Regions from separate parts of the Homo sapiens genome. Here region 1 is linked to region 2. Evidence: promoter capture Hi-C in 16 types of primary human blood cells and fetal thymus (Javierre and others, 2016). All regions are on one chromosome and are shown on one strand. The core of a region is centred on a gene start or on the middle of the fragment in contact, and the rest is flanking DNA. Distances in the headings are between cores, read along the strand shown.

Evidence for each region. The method cuts DNA at HindIII sites, captures the fragments that hold promoters and counts their contacts. A CHiCAGO score of 5 or more calls a contact.
Region 1: the fragment with the promoter of SCYL1 here is called in contact with the fragment with the promoter of TM7SF2 in region 2 in 1 of 17 cell types (naive B cells); the score reaches 5.3 in naive B cells.

Annotation. Positions count from the first base shown.
Region 1 is chr11:65,523,633-65,526,332 of GRCh38, reverse strand. SCYL1 (SCY1 like pseudokinase 1) reads right to left here and starts at 1,250. Exons shown (of 18, transcript NM_020680.4): 1 at 1,069-1,250; 2 at 619-759; 3 at 290-412; 4 at 1-209. The coding sequence starts at 1,179. RefSeq lists a silencer at 903-1,402. The HindIII fragment of the contact is 5,249 bases long and covers 119-2,700 here.
Region 2 is chr11:65,110,614-65,113,313 of GRCh38, reverse strand. It overlaps TM7SF2 (transmembrane 7 superfamily member 2), which reads right to left and starts at 1,442. Exons shown (of 10, transcript NM_003273.6): 1 at 1,247-1,442; 2 at 603-799; 3 at 449-503; 4 at 1-94. The coding sequence starts at 1,298. VPS51 (VPS51 subunit of GARP complex) reads right to left here. Exons shown (of 10, transcript NM_013265.4): 9 at 2,533-2,620; 10 at 1,452-1,987. The coding sequence ends at 1,727. RefSeq lists silencers at 631-1,060, 2,326-2,501 and enhancers at 1,191-1,240, 1,311-1,420, 1,343-1,637, 1,334-2,259, 2,260-2,700. The HindIII fragment of the contact is 11,666 bases long and covers 1-2,700 here.

The sequences.
Region 1 (2,700 bases), core at 1-2,500, 410 kb before region 2:
CTGCCACTGCTGTCAGCCAACTCCGGGGGGTCATACTGCTCAAGCTCGGGGATCCCCTTGCGGGGAGGTCCCCCACCGTTGCCCTGGGCCGAATACATGTAGTCCAGGCCCCCAAGCTTCCACTCGCCAGCTCGGTCCACGAACACGGCGGCCATGCAGACATTGTTGTGGATGAGGCTGCAGTCGTTGACCAGGAAGCTGAGGGCTTTCTGGGGGCAAAAGGAGCCATCACGCCCCAGCACCTGCAACCCCCCATCCCTGCTCTCATCACCACTGCCCCCCACCTCACCACGATCTGGTGTAGCCCCCAGGAGATCTCCAGCTCCTTCAGGCCACCAGCCTCCACTCTCGCCTTGAGGTATATTCCCAACGGGGTCACAGCCTCTGTCACGACGTGGAGGCATTTTTCTGTCTGGGGAAGGGGACACAGGGTTATCAAGGGCGGAGGGGCAGAGAGGAAGGAGAGATAAGCGACTTGAAGTTGGGAGAGATGGGGAAGAGGAAACCAAATCTGGGGGTGCTGGGGCACATAGGGTGGAAACAGGGCAGGAGGGGAGACAGGAGTGGGTAACCAGGACATCGTGAGGGGCAGAGACGGGCAGGCAAGGCAGCAGGTACCTCCAGTCCATCGATGTAAGCCAGGATGTTGGGGTGCCGTAGAGTTTTGAAGCGCTTGAAGGCAGCTTTGGCCACCTGGGTCTGCTCTTCCGCGCCAGGCTTCACATCATAGACGAAGATGGACACGGGGCTGCCTGTGGCCTAGGGGAGGGCAGCGGGGCCTGAGATGGTCCCAGAGCTGTTGTGTGGCCGGAAGACAAGGGCCCGCAGCCAGGTCTCTCCCCAGGTCAGCCTTAGGGACACTTCGCCGGGCCCACGTGACCCCGGCCCTGTCCGCCTGTCGGTCCCTCGGTCCCTCCGCCCGCCACGTAGGCACTGCCCGCCCCCTCCCCGGCCTGCTACCCCTTGGTTCCGCCGCCACGTCAGGCCGGGCGCAACGCGACGGGGTCGGCGGCGCGGAATAGGCAAGGCCCAGGTCGACCGCGGCCTACGGAGCTCGGCCGCACTCACCTTCTTGCGGCCGCGGTGCAGGGCCCAGGGCCCGGGCAGGCCGCCCTCTGGGGGCTCCGGGATGAGCTCGAACGGAAAGTCCCGGACCGGGTCCCGGGCAAAGAACCACATCGTCCCCACCGCCGCCGCGGGTTCGGGCGCCTTAGCTCCGGGTCCTCCGGCCGCCCGAGCCGGGGCGGGGCGGAGAGGGGGCGGGGCCTGCGTCAGACGGGGGCGGGGCCCGGGGGCCAGGGCGGGGCCTACGTCGGGGCGGAGCAGGACGTGAATTGGGGCGGGGTGGGGCAGAACCTGAGTTGGGGCGGGAAGGGGCGGGGACAAGGGAGGGGCGGGAGAGGGGCGGGGATGGGGGGGCTAGGGAGGGGCGGGGATGGGGGGGCTAGGGAGGGGCGGGGATGGGGGGGCTAGGGAGGGGCGGGGCAGTCCGGGGCGGCGGGCGGTACTAAGATCAGTACTCCGCCGCCGGGTAAGTCACTTAAAACCCTCCAAGCCTGTGAGCCCTTTTATCTAAAGAGGCCTAAATCCTAAAGGATAATAGAGCCTGCCTTCTAGCGTACTGTAAGGATGAGAGCTTAAGAAGGGACAGAGGGATGGGGAAACCGAGGCAAAAAGGGGGAGAGGTAGAAAGACTGACAGGCATGAGAGGGTGCAGTGAGGAGTGAGGCAGAGACCCAGAGAGGGAGACTGGCCCCACGCCAGACACTCTCTCCCACCAGCAAGTGGGTGCCTCCAGGCTCCGGGGAGGAGTCGGTCCTGGTGAAGTGACCATGAGAGAAGCACGAGGAGACGCCCCAGAGAAAGAGCGTGGGTGAGAGGCAGAGAGTGAATCCAAGGTTCCAAGGAGGTCCAGAACCCCGGGGCAGGGGCGGGCACCCAGGGAATGGAGGAAGGAGAGACTGAGGAGGGAAGAAGAAGTGACCCCAGGAAAGGAGGGAGGGAGAAGGAGCAACTGGGCAGGTCTGGAAGAGGCCAAAGGGCTGGGAGGGGACCCTGCTCTCCTGGGCTCAGCTGCCCGGCTCTCAAGCCAACGGATTGCATCTCTCAGTGCCTGTGTAGACAGCCATGGAGTGGTGTTAGCTCAATCAGCACATCACACTGGTGGGGATCCAGCCCCTGAGCTGTGTAGGAGGGGCTGGACAGGCAGTGGTTCTTCTGCTGGTAGGGTCTCAGGACCCAGGCTTGGGGACAGTGCCTCAACCACAGCTATGGAGCACTGGTGAGATTCTGGGACTGGTTATGAAAAGTCTGGTTGGGATGCCTTTGGGAGATAACTCAAGGGCAGAGATGCCACAGTGAGACGGTGCTGGGTTTCAATCACGGTTCAGCCCCTCATTGGATGTGAGAACTCACACAGTTCCCTTTGGGTGCGTTAGGTCCCCCATCTATAAACTGGGGTGAGGGCCAGGCACAGTGGTTCACGCTTGTAATCTCAGCACTTTGGGAGGCCGAGGCTGGAGGATCACCTGAGGTCAGGAGTTCCAGGTCAGCCTGACCAACATGTTTGAAGGGGGCCTGCCCCTCCACACCTGTGGGTATTTCTCGTCAGGTGGAGACAAGAGACTGAGAAAAGAAATAAGACACAAAGTATAGAGAAAGAACAGTGGGCCCAGGGGACCGGCACACTCAGTATACGAG
Region 2 (2,700 bases), core at 193-2,692:
AAGGGCAGGAGCATTTCCGGGAGCGCCCCCAGAGGCAGCCCCGCTGACATCCCCAGCCCCACCAACAGGGCTGTCAGCACCAGGGCCTGGAAGCCTGAACCACAGCGCACAGTGAGCCCTGGGGCTGCGCGCCTCCACATCCCCACCCCGCAAACACACGCAGAGCCCAAAACTCAGGGGGGCCACAGACCCTGCCCCAAGCATTAGGCTGCCACCCTGGCCTTCAGAGGATCACCCCAGCCACTGCTGTGGTGCACGGAGTAGCAGTAAATGGGGTAAGGCTGTGGGGACGAGGGGCATAGGGAGAGCCCCCGGCGTCTGTCCTGGGCGTAACAGAGGCACACAAAGGAGCCTGGGGTGGGGGCCAATCTCCGTGGACCTCCCCGCTAGGCCTGGAGCTCCACCCCCGGCCGCTTAACTCCAGCGCGAGGGCCCGTCCCCTAGGCACCGTTAATAGGATAGCGCAGGCGACTCTTGTCCTTCAATTCCTGCCCCTCGGCCACCTGCGGGTCCAAGGGGGCTCTGATAAGGCCCGGGGCGTCCTTTCCCTCGCCGAGCCCATTCGCTTCCCTCCCCCGAGCGTCCGCGAGCGGGGCCCGCACCTTGCGCGCCGGCAGTAGGTAGAGCGCCGCCTGCAGGCCGAGCCAGGCGAGCCACAGCAGCAGCGCCCGTGGGCTCCACAGCACCTCCAGCCCCGGCAGGGACGCGGGTGGACCCAGCAGGCGCGCGGGGCCCGAACGGGCCGCCAGGAGCAGGTGGAACATGGTGGCGGGCAGCAGCAGTAGCAGAGCCGCGGCGCCTGCGGGAAGGGCCATCACGTCGGGCGTCCGCCCCTAGCCCCCCAGCTCCCCGCCGGCCCGCACGGGCGCCCTGACGTCTCTGCGGGACCCTCTCGGCATTCCCAGAGTGCGCCTCCGCACCCCGTCCTCAGCCCTCGGCCCCCAGGCACCCCGCTGCCTCCCAGTTCCCTTCCCAGGCGTCCATCTTAGTCCCCCGCCCCCAGGCCCCTCGAAGACCCTCCTCCTGCTCCCAGTCGACACCATAAATCCCCGTTCTGCAGCCCCCAGAACCGGCCCCTCCTCAGCTCTCCCTCTCCAGACACCCTTCGCTGCAAACCCCCGGGTCCCTCTGCCTCCGACACCCCCAAAGCCTTCCATCCTCAGATCTCGCCCCCGCTCTTAGTTCACCCGCTCCAGCTCTCCTTCGCTTAGCCTTTGCCCCAGGTCCCATCTCTCTGCCCCATTACCCAGGGGCCCTCCGAATTCCAGCGGGGCCCGGGGGCCCTGAGTGGGGGCCATGGTCTCCGCTCCGCCGGAGAGAGAGGGCGCTCACAATAGTCAGTCAAGGAAACACTGTCCGCCCCATTTCCCAGGAGATGGACTCGGCCGCGCGGAGGATCCGGCCCCGCGGCGCCTGCACCTGCCTGGACACGGAACGCAGACAAGGACCGCTCTCGTCCCAGGGTTTTTAAGTGGAACCGCCCCCTGCCCATGCTGGGCCCAGCACACCAGCCAATCGGCGCTCGGGGGCGGACCCGACGCGGGCGCCTCAGAAGCCTCAGCTTCAAAACCCCGCCCCCGGAAAGGCCCGCCCAGCAAGCGAGAGGAGGAGGCCACACATGTTTATTAGGCCGGTCCTGACACCTGCCTGCGGGGAAGGACCACCGAGACCAGATCCTGGGTGCCATGGGGTGCAGGGACAGACCGGTGCATGGCAGCGGCTGCGCCTAGCCGCGCTCGCAGATGACCTCAACCACACTGGGCTCCATGGGCACAGGGTCTGGGCAGCGCAGGGCAGCAGAGGCCACCACTTCGTCCAGCAGCAAGTGCACGAGTTCTTCGTCGGCCACAAAACGCCACAGGTAGAGCTGCAGAAAGTGGCAGTCCACTTGCACCTGCTGCAGCCCGAAGCGCCCAAAGGTGCGCAGCCGCACACACTCCAGCAGCGTCTTCAGGCTGATCTTGATGATGCCGGTCAGCACCGACACCTGCAGGCAGGGACACAGGGATGCAGCTTGGGGACTGCAGGTGTGTGTGGGGGACACCCAAGTTCCAAGCAGGGGCCCGGGAGACATACGATGGAAGTAGCTGGGATGAGGCAGAAAGTCTCCGGGGCCAGATAAGAAGGGAGGGATACAATATTAGCGCCGTCATCTGGAGGGCAGGGGACAGGTAGGGCCCAGCAATCAGAGGCATCCCTGAGCTTGGAGTGAGGCGGGGCAGGGACCATGGGTGAACAGAAAACCCTGGGGAGGACCCAAGACTACTGTGGGGATAAGGACAAGGGCAAACAGTAATCCCAGGTCAGCACCCAGACTCAGGCTGGGCATACACCAAGACTGGGACAAGGGCTGTGGGATTTGGAGGCAGGGCACTCTGTACTACCTAAAAACAGCCCTAGAGACAGAGACTGGAGGGTCAGGGTCACCCCCAGTTGGTCACAGAGTCCTGGGGCTCCTTGGGCAGGTGTGGGGCTGCTCCAGCCAACCCTCCCCGGGATCCCTGGAAGTCTGAGTCACGTTGGAAGTCGGACCTTGTTGAACTCCACAGGGCTGAACACATCAATACGTTCAGAGAATAGCTTCTGGATATTGCTCAAGAGGTTGGTGTCCATCGGGGCACTGGATTGGGGAAGACAAGGAATCAGAGCCCGCCCTGCACCCTCGCCCTCTTTTGTCCCTTCCCCCTGGGGCTCCCCTGA